Regions from separate parts of the Homo sapiens genome. Here regions 1 and 3 are each linked to region 2. Evidence: promoter capture Hi-C in 16 types of primary human blood cells and fetal thymus (Javierre and others, 2016). All regions are on one chromosome and are shown on one strand. The core of a region is centred on a gene start or on the middle of the fragment in contact, and the rest is flanking DNA. Distances in the headings are between cores, read along the strand shown.

Region 1 (2,700 bases), core at 151-2,650, 290 kb after region 2:
TAACCAAATCTGGAAGGGACCCTGGAATTTGCCTTTTTCACAAATACCCCCAGGAGATTCTGACACAAGGTGATGACTAACTATAGTTTGAGAATCTCTGGTCAATGGTTATTGCTCTAATATTAAGACATTGCTCAGCCGGGCACGGTGGCTCACACCTGTAATCCCAGCACTTTGGGAGGCAGAGGCGGGTGGATCATGAGGTCAGGAGTTCAAGACCAGCCTGACCAATATGGTGAAACCTCGTCTCTACTAAAAATACAAAAATTAGCTGGGCGTGGTAGCTCACGCCTGTAGTCCCAGCTACTCGGGAGGATGAGGCAGGAGAATCGCTTGAACCCAGGAGGCAGAGGTTGCAGTAAGCCGAGACAGCCCCACTGCAGTCCAGCCTGGGTGACAGAGCAAGACTCTGTCAAAAAAAAAAAAAAAAAGGAGAGAGACGTTGCTCAATAATAATGATATTGCTCAATTATTAATGCTCTAATATTAAGGCCTGTGTCTAGTTTTCTTTTCTCTTGGTTTAATCAGAGATTCCTCCAAACATCCAGGAACCCGGCCCTCACAATCCCAGATTCTCCTCTCTTGGCCCTCAAAGGCTACCTACTCTATTCTCTTTCTTCTGGAGCACTTACTGTAATCCACCAATGGGGCCAGGCTTTTGCAGAAAAAAGATAGGCAGCAATCAACCACAAAGCAAGGAACTTGAAGGGCCTGGATGTCCATTTGAAACCAGGAGTGGAAGATGGAACAAAACACAAATTACCATCTCAAATCACCGCACACACTTGAATTGATCCTCCAGGGTGTCTTTTCCCAAAGAACACACCTATGGGCACAAGTCCCAGCCTCTGCTAGGTGACCTGCTACCACCTTCAGGAGAGTGGGAAACTGGAAAGAGAGTATCCTGGCACTTTCCAGACCTAAGGTTTGACTCTAGGAAGACTTCAGAGGATGAGAATAACAGGAAATTTTGTTCCAATTCAAGACGGTGATATTTTATAGTAGTAAAGTTCTCCCAGAGGGTATTTATTTCTGACCTAGAGTGATACAGAATAAAGGTCAGGTGATAAAGAAGTGCTATCTAGATTCTGGTTTCTTAAATAGCAAATGGCCATGGCCTTGGGTATGAAATGAAGATACTGGCCACCCTGGGCGTCATGGGGAACAGCAAACAGCCATGGCCTTGGGTATGAAATGAAGATACTGGCCACCCTGGGCGTCATGGGGAACAGCAAACGGCCATGGCCTTGGGTATGAAATGAAGATACTGGCCACCCTGGGCGTCATGGGGAATAGCAAATGGCCATGGCCTTGGGTATGAAATGAAGATATTGGCCTCCCTGGTCGTCATGGGGAGAGGACACTTCCAAGGGCATTGGTGAGACATCCCTTGAATGGTCCATCCAAGGGATGTCTCACCAATGCCCTTGGAAGGAGATTCCATGTTCCTGGCTGAAATGGTGCTTTTTGTAAGGATAGCTATACGCTTTCAGGAGAGCCCAGGCATTGCTCTGTAGTGATCCAGTAGTCCTGATTTTCCAGCCAGGCCACACCCCAGCCACTTCGCTGGTTTGATTGCTCATGTAAAGCCCCTTTCCTGTTGATCTTCCCTCTCTAGTTACTTCTATTGGCAACACAGACAGCCGATTCTTTACAAACCTCACCACTGGCATCTACAGGTTCTACCCCATCTACATACAGCCTGAAGACTTCAAACGGTGAGTGGAACAGGTTTGAGCAGCAGGTGGGAGAAAAGAAATACACTTGATGTGTCCTTTTCCTACCCCATGCTCCTGGCAGTCCACAGAATCAGGGGGAAAGCCAGGATTTGGCAAAATGAAATGGAGACATTGTAGAACCTAACCCATCTACTGTCCTTATTGCCAGAGTCTCATTGTCACCCCCTAGAATTTATGGAAATTGGCCCCTCTTTTACAAAGATGGAGATAATTGGGTGATTGGGGAGAACCTGGTGGAATCGGTACCCTTGGGTGCTAATCCCAGCTCTTCCTCTCTTTGGGAGAGGGCTTATCCTCTGGACCCCGTTTTCTCCACTTACAAAATGGGGAGACTCCTCAGCATTTTCTGAAATGCAGACACATATGAGGTCAAAGGTGGATGCGTGTTTTGACTTCTCAGAAGAAAGCACTATGGAAATCCAAGATGTGAGCACCAATTTTAACTGCTCTGTGTGAATTACTATTTTTGTGGGTTCTTCAGCACATTTTCAATCCTGGGGTTTGGGAGGATGATTTCCATTTACCTCTCTGCTACTTATCACGTCCAGACTTGATTTCCCCATCCTAAATCCTCTGTAGACAGAGTGAAAATATTTGAATAGGAGCTTAAGAACAGCTTTCATGTTTTTGTTTTTTAAATGGGAGATGGGTAGGTACTCTGTTTCCTTTCATCTTTGAGATTACATATGTAGTTTGGTTGTTGTTTGTTTTGTTTTGCTCTGTTTTGTTTCACTGTGGGGAGGCAGGTTGGTGGATGTGAGGTCTGATAGTAAAGTTTCTAGGTGCCACAGAAAACTGGGTAGGCACCCTGGGCAGTTGCCTTCCCTACCCTCTCTTAGCCCTAGTAAGTGGGACAGTAGGAGACTGGCTTAGAGATAGTCTAGCTAGGCATTCTGTCCTAAGAGAAAGACAATTGGAAAGATAGTTCTTGGCCAAGTGTGGTGACTCACACCTATAATCC
Region 2 (2,700 bases), core at 83-2,582:
GAGACAGAGTTTCACTCTGTCGCCCAGGCTGGAGTGCAGTGGTGTGTTCTCGGCTCACTGCAAGCCCTGCCTCCCGGGTTCACGCCATTCTCCTGCCTCAGCCTCCCCAGTAGCTGGGACCACAGGCGCCCGCCACCACGCCCGGCTAATTTTTTGTATTTTTAGTAGAGATGGGGTTTCACCGTGTTAGCCAGGATGGTCTCGATCTCCTGACCTCGTGATCTGCCCGCCTCGGCCTCCCAAAGTGCTGGGATTACAGACGTGAGCCATCGCGCCCAGTCTGTCACTCCTAACTTCTAATCTGCTCTAGGGAGAGTCCCAATAGTCCATCTTGCATACTGAAGATTAAGTGAATTTCACAGCCAACACCACACAATACCTTCTCTATTGAGCTGTAAGCTGCCTCTGGACTGGATGGTGTTTTGTTTTTATTTTTACCGTCAGCACCAGTGCCTCTCACATAGAATTTAGCCAAGCCGGTTAGGTGTTAAGTGCTGCTGCTGCGCTGTCAGAAGGGCACACGGGGCTGGTTCTAGACCGGCCTCTGCTGCTTACTCGTTCAGTAATCTTCTACAGCAAGTTCTTGAACTTCTCTGGGCCTGTTTTCTACCTCGCCGAGTGGTTAACTGCGTTTAGGATCTTGGAAGCACCTAAGCACGAAAAGCACATAGGCCAGAAGTTAAGATGTCCCTTGGGGACGCAAATACCGGGAATTTCTCCGGCTGTTCCCACCGATCAAGCACCAGGGCTCTCAGGTCTAGCTCCTTCGTCTCCCCACCCCCACATATACCCTCACTTTTTCTTCCTTTCCCTATGCCTCGCAGTCCCTCAACAGGGTCTGCGGTCAGACGTCACTCCCAGGTGACTGGCAATCAGGGATGCCGCCTCGCTCACCTGGCCACCCTTGAAGATTGTGGATCCTGCACCGGCTAGCCGGCTGGCAGAGGGCGCGCCAACAGCCGCCAGCCGAAGTGCCCCCGCGTAGGTGGGAGGAGTGACTGCCTCTCACCATCCCCCGGGGATGCACCTGTGGAGAGACGGCCCGAGAGTTCCAGGGTGAGTGCGCAGAGGAGCTTATCTGCCTGCCTGCGGGTCGGTGTGTCCTGCCGGCTGCTGGGCGCTGGCCTGCGTCGCCTGCTTGTCTCGCTCCCTGTCCCTCGTCCGCTACCCCCTCTGCCCCCCCTCCCTCCAGCAGCCGGCCTCTCGGTCATCCCGCCGGGTGGGTGCCTGCGAACCTCACTCCTCCCTCCTCTGCAGGAGCCAACTGGCGAGCCGCAGGCCGCCGGGCTCGGCCTGGGAGCCCATAAAACCCGCCCGAGCCGCGCCGCTGCGCTCCAGCCGCTGCTCACCAGGCAGAGCGAGCGGGCTTGGCTGGGGCTTCCTGCCCTGAGCGCGACACCGACTGCCCCGGACCGCGCCTCCAAGCAGGCTGAAGGGCTTCCGCTCTTGGCTTCCAGAAAAGTTTGGAGAAAGAGAATTTGAGGCGGATTGGAGGGTGGTAGCCCCTCCCCAGCCTTCTTTCCCTCCCAGAAGCCTCACTCTGCACAGCGTCCCCCATTCTTCCCGTCCTGATTCCCCATCTTCCTGACCCCTCCTTCTCCCTCTCCTGGGTCGATCCCAGTCACATTTTCTCCTTCCGAATCTCATCCTCCCTCCTCCTCTCTATCCCAGTCCTCTGAACGATTTCCGCCTATTTGCAAGCCTTCTCCCTGTCATTCTCAACGCTTCTCCTTTCTCTCCACCTCCCCTGCCACTCCATTTTATCCATCAAACCTCTCCACTTGCATCCACACCCTCCCTTCATCCTTCCCTCCCAGCAAACCTTGCTCATGGATTCTGGGCCTCTGTGGGATGCCAACCCCACCCCTCGGGGCACCCTCTCTGCCCCCAATGCCACAACACCCTGGCTGGGCCGGGATGAGGAGCTGGCCAAGGTGGAGATCGGAGTCCTGGCCACTGTCCTGGTGCTGGCGACCGGGGGCAACCTGGCTGTGCTGCTGACCCTGGGCCAGCTGGGCCGCAAGCGCTCCCGCATGCACCTGTTCGTGCTGCACTTAGCCCTGACAGACCTGGCCGTGGCGCTCTTCCAGGTGCTGCCACAGCTGCTGTGGGACATCACCTACCGCTTCCAGGGCCCCGACCTCCTGTGCAGGGCCGTCAAGTACCTGCAGGTGCTCAGCATGTTTGCCTCCACCTACATGCTGCTGGCCATGACGCTGGACCGCTACCTGGCTGTCTGTCACCCCCTGCGCAGCCTCCAGCAGCCAGGCCAGTCCACCTACCTGCTCATCGCTGCTCCCTGGCTGCTGGCCGCCATCTTCAGCCTCCCTCAAGTCTTCATTTTTTCCCTGCGGGAGGTGATCCAGGGCTCAGGGGTGCTGGACTGCTGGGCAGACTTCGGCTTCCCTTGGGGGCCACGGGCCTACCTCACCTGGACCACCCTGGCTATCTTCGTTCTGCCGGTGACCATGCTCACGGCCTGCTACAGCCTCATCTGCCATGAGATCTGTAAAAACCTAAAAGTCAAGACACAGGCCTGGCGGGTGGGAGGAGGGGGCTGGAGGACTTGGGACAGGCCCTCACCTTCCACCTTAGCTGCCACCACTCGGGGGCTGCCATCTCGGGTCAGCAGCATCAACACCATCTCACGGGCCAAGATCCGAACAGTGAAGATGACCTTTGTCATCGTGCTGGCCTACA
Region 3 (2,700 bases), core at 121-2,620, 270 kb after region 2:
TTTAACATTCTAAATCTTAAACTAGGTGGTGAATCCAGAAATGTTCATTATGTTATTTTTTATATCTTTATAATATGTGAAGTATTTCATGATACTGTTTTAAAGTTGCTATTAAAAAGTAACTAGGCAGGGTGTGGTGGCTCACGCCTGTAATCCCAGCACTTTGGGAGGTCGAGGTGGGCAGATCACCTGAGGTCGGGAGTTCGAGACCAGCCTGACCAACATGGAGAAACCCCATCTCTACTAAAAATACAAAATTAGCCAGGCATGGTGGTGCATGCCTGTAATCCCAGCTACTTGGGAGGCTGAGGCCAGAGAATTGCTTGAAACTGGGAGGCGGAGGTTGCGGTGAGCCGAGATCGCCCCATTGCACTCCAGCCTGGGCACCGAGAGAGAAAAAAAAAGAAAAGAAAAGAAAAGTAACTACATGGCTGAATTTTTTTTTTTAAGCAAATCTTAAATGAAATGCAAACACCAGGACTGTGAACCTGTAGCTTTGGTCACAGGTAGCAATATGGCCTTACTGGTTGTATAGCACTTACTGAATTTTTCTTGAGAATTCTAAAATTTGAGAGTGATGCCAGATAAAATTGCATCAAGAAATCTGAAAGGAACGATTTATTCTGGCTTCAGGAAATCTGATTTTATATTTCTGTGACATAAGACAGGTTTTCTTTTTTCCAGAATGATCCTCTACTCTGAATAACCATAAAATTTCACTTGTGGAATACATCAAAATTATTTATACATCAAAATTCTCTTAAATATTTTATAGTAATCTTTCTAAAAATCCTTCAGTCTTACTGTACTTGTCTAGAGTTGCAAAAATGTAGTGTTAACATTAATATTAAAAGCACTTTCAATGAAATTTCTAAACAGGAGCCAACCCTCTGAGCTGGTATTTCAAAGCAGTATCTATAAACAGAGCAATTTGTTCCAATTTCAGATGAAATCAAGCTGGGAACCTAGAGAGCTCCCCCGCCCCAGGATCTAGGGAATTGTAGTCAGGTTCTAAGCTTCGGAAAAAACGAGCAGCAGAGTATGGTCTGATAAGCTTCGTGCATTTTATTTTGCTTTTCCTCCTTTATTTGATTTGTTGTCATACAGGAAAGGATTTATGGGTGAGAGATCAAGTGCGGACCAGACATGACTCTAGCCTGGAGCCCGACCTCACCTCTGCTCTGCAGGAACTGCTGGCCTCAGCACGAAAACCCACAACCCTCGAAAGGCCTTAAGGATCCTGGGCGGGGTCATTCTGTCAATTGGTTGTTCCGCTGTCCTAGCGAAGCGATGATTGGTCAGATCTGGATATGGGGTGTGGCTAAGGCTGTTTGCCGGAATAAGAGCAGAGCTAGGGCCAAGAAACGCTAGTCTGGGCGTTTAGGTCAGAACTACCCCGGTAGCCTGACAGCAGGAGCTCGAGAGAAGCATGGCTCAGCGGTGCGTTTGCGTGCTGGCCCTGGTGGCTATGCTGCTCCTAGTTTTCCCTACCGTCTCCAGATCGATGGGCCCGAGGAGCGGGGAGCATCAAAGGGCGTCGCGAATCCCTTCTCAGTTCAGCAAAGAGGAACGCGTCGCGATGAAAGAGGCGCTGAAAGGTGAACCCGGGTCCCCTTCACCCACCTATGCTCATATGTGGGTCCCTCCCTCCCCAGGTCAACCCGTGACTCCCCGCTTCCGCCGCAAAGCATCTGCTACTGCAGCTGGAGCCCCGACACGCACCCCAGCCCGGCCCCAACACCCTTCCCAGCACATCGTGCCCCTGTCTGGGGACGCCACACTTCCCCCATACCTGGCTCCTGGAACTCTGGTGTGCCCTGCCTAACCTGGAAGCTCCAACTTCACCCCTCTTGGCGTGACCACCGTCCATTCTTTCCCCTGCTTGCCTCGAGTATTACACCAGCTTTCATTTGTACATCAATTTTAACCTTTGAAAGTTTGCATGCCTGATAAATTACTGCGGTGTCGTAAAATAAGACAAATGATATTAGTCTTATCTACAAAGGAGAGAAATTGAGGCTTAGGTCAGCTAAATGATCTTCCCCAGGGCCCCACAGCAAAGAGTGGGCAGTGGGTGACAGCATCTAGTGCCTGTCGGACTCGCTGGGATCAGATGGCTCTAAAGAAAGGGAGTGGAGTGTTCCCGGGGTGTGGGATGTTCCTAATTCTCAATCATAATTGAAGAACATGTCTCCTCTAGATCTCTAATCCAGACCAAAAATTCATCCCTGTTCTGAATCTGCATTTTCCAGGAAACAGGAAAGTTTCTGTTGAGTGCTAGATCCTATGGGATGAAATCCTTCTTTACCATTCAGCTTAGCTCCAGTCTTTTCCCTTTCATTAAGTAATGGATTAAGAGAGACTGCCTGCATAAACATATAGAAGCAGATGCAGGGACCAAAAGCTAACCCCAATAGTTGGATATAGATTGTTCATATGCTAGAGTGACAAGCCTGGGAGGCAGAGCAGGGCTTTCCCAAAGCATAAATAATTCTCTAAAAGGCATTAGACAGCCACTCACAGTCTGCACAGAAGAGAACAAAAGCTACATAAGCTAGAATAGGGACCTCATAGCAACACAGCTTGGAACTCTGAGCAGGGGACAGAACACCTGAGATCAGATCCTTGGGTCTGCCCTTGAGTAGGCACTTGAATCTTTCTGAACCTCGGCTTCCCCATCTATCTGGTGGGCTATGCTAT

What was found. Contacts are between HindIII fragments. The CHiCAGO score rates a contact against its expected background, and 5 or more counts as called.
Region 1: a contact is called between a fragment that was not itself captured here and the fragment with the promoter of AVPR1B in region 2, in 1 of 17 cell types (M1 macrophages). The highest score is 5.4, in M1 macrophages.
Region 3: a contact is called between the fragment with the promoter of PM20D1 here and the fragment with the promoter of AVPR1B in region 2, in 4 of 17 cell types (erythroblasts, M0 macrophages, M1 macrophages and 1 more). The highest score is 7.0, in erythroblasts.

The regions. Positions count from the first base shown.
Region 1 is chr1:205,829,298-205,831,997 of GRCh38, reverse strand. PM20D1 (peptidase M20 domain containing 1) reads left to right here. Exons shown (of 13, transcript NM_152491.5): 12 at 1,619-1,718. Among named protein-coding and RNA genes, the nearest start is that of SLC41A1, 17 kb to the right of the region's middle. The HindIII fragment of the contact is 9,446 bases long and covers 1-2,700 here.
Region 2 is chr1:206,116,020-206,118,719 of GRCh38, reverse strand. It overlaps AVPR1B (arginine vasopressin receptor 1B), which reads left to right and starts at 1,332. Exons shown (of 2, transcript NM_000707.5): 1 at 1,332-2,700. The coding sequence starts at 1,830. It overlaps AVPR1B-DT (AVPR1B divergent transcript), which reads right to left and starts at 937. Exons shown (of 3, transcript NR_186693.1): 1 at 895-937; 2 at 380-650. RefSeq lists a silencer at 218-512. The HindIII fragment of the contact is 5,056 bases long and covers 1-2,700 here.
Region 3 is chr1:205,848,802-205,851,501 of GRCh38, reverse strand. It overlaps PM20D1 (peptidase M20 domain containing 1), which reads left to right and starts at 1,370. Exons shown (of 13, transcript NM_152491.5): 1 at 1,370-1,598. The coding sequence starts at 1,430. RefSeq lists an enhancer at 1,147-1,441. The HindIII fragment of the contact is 2,085 bases long and covers 1,057-2,700 here.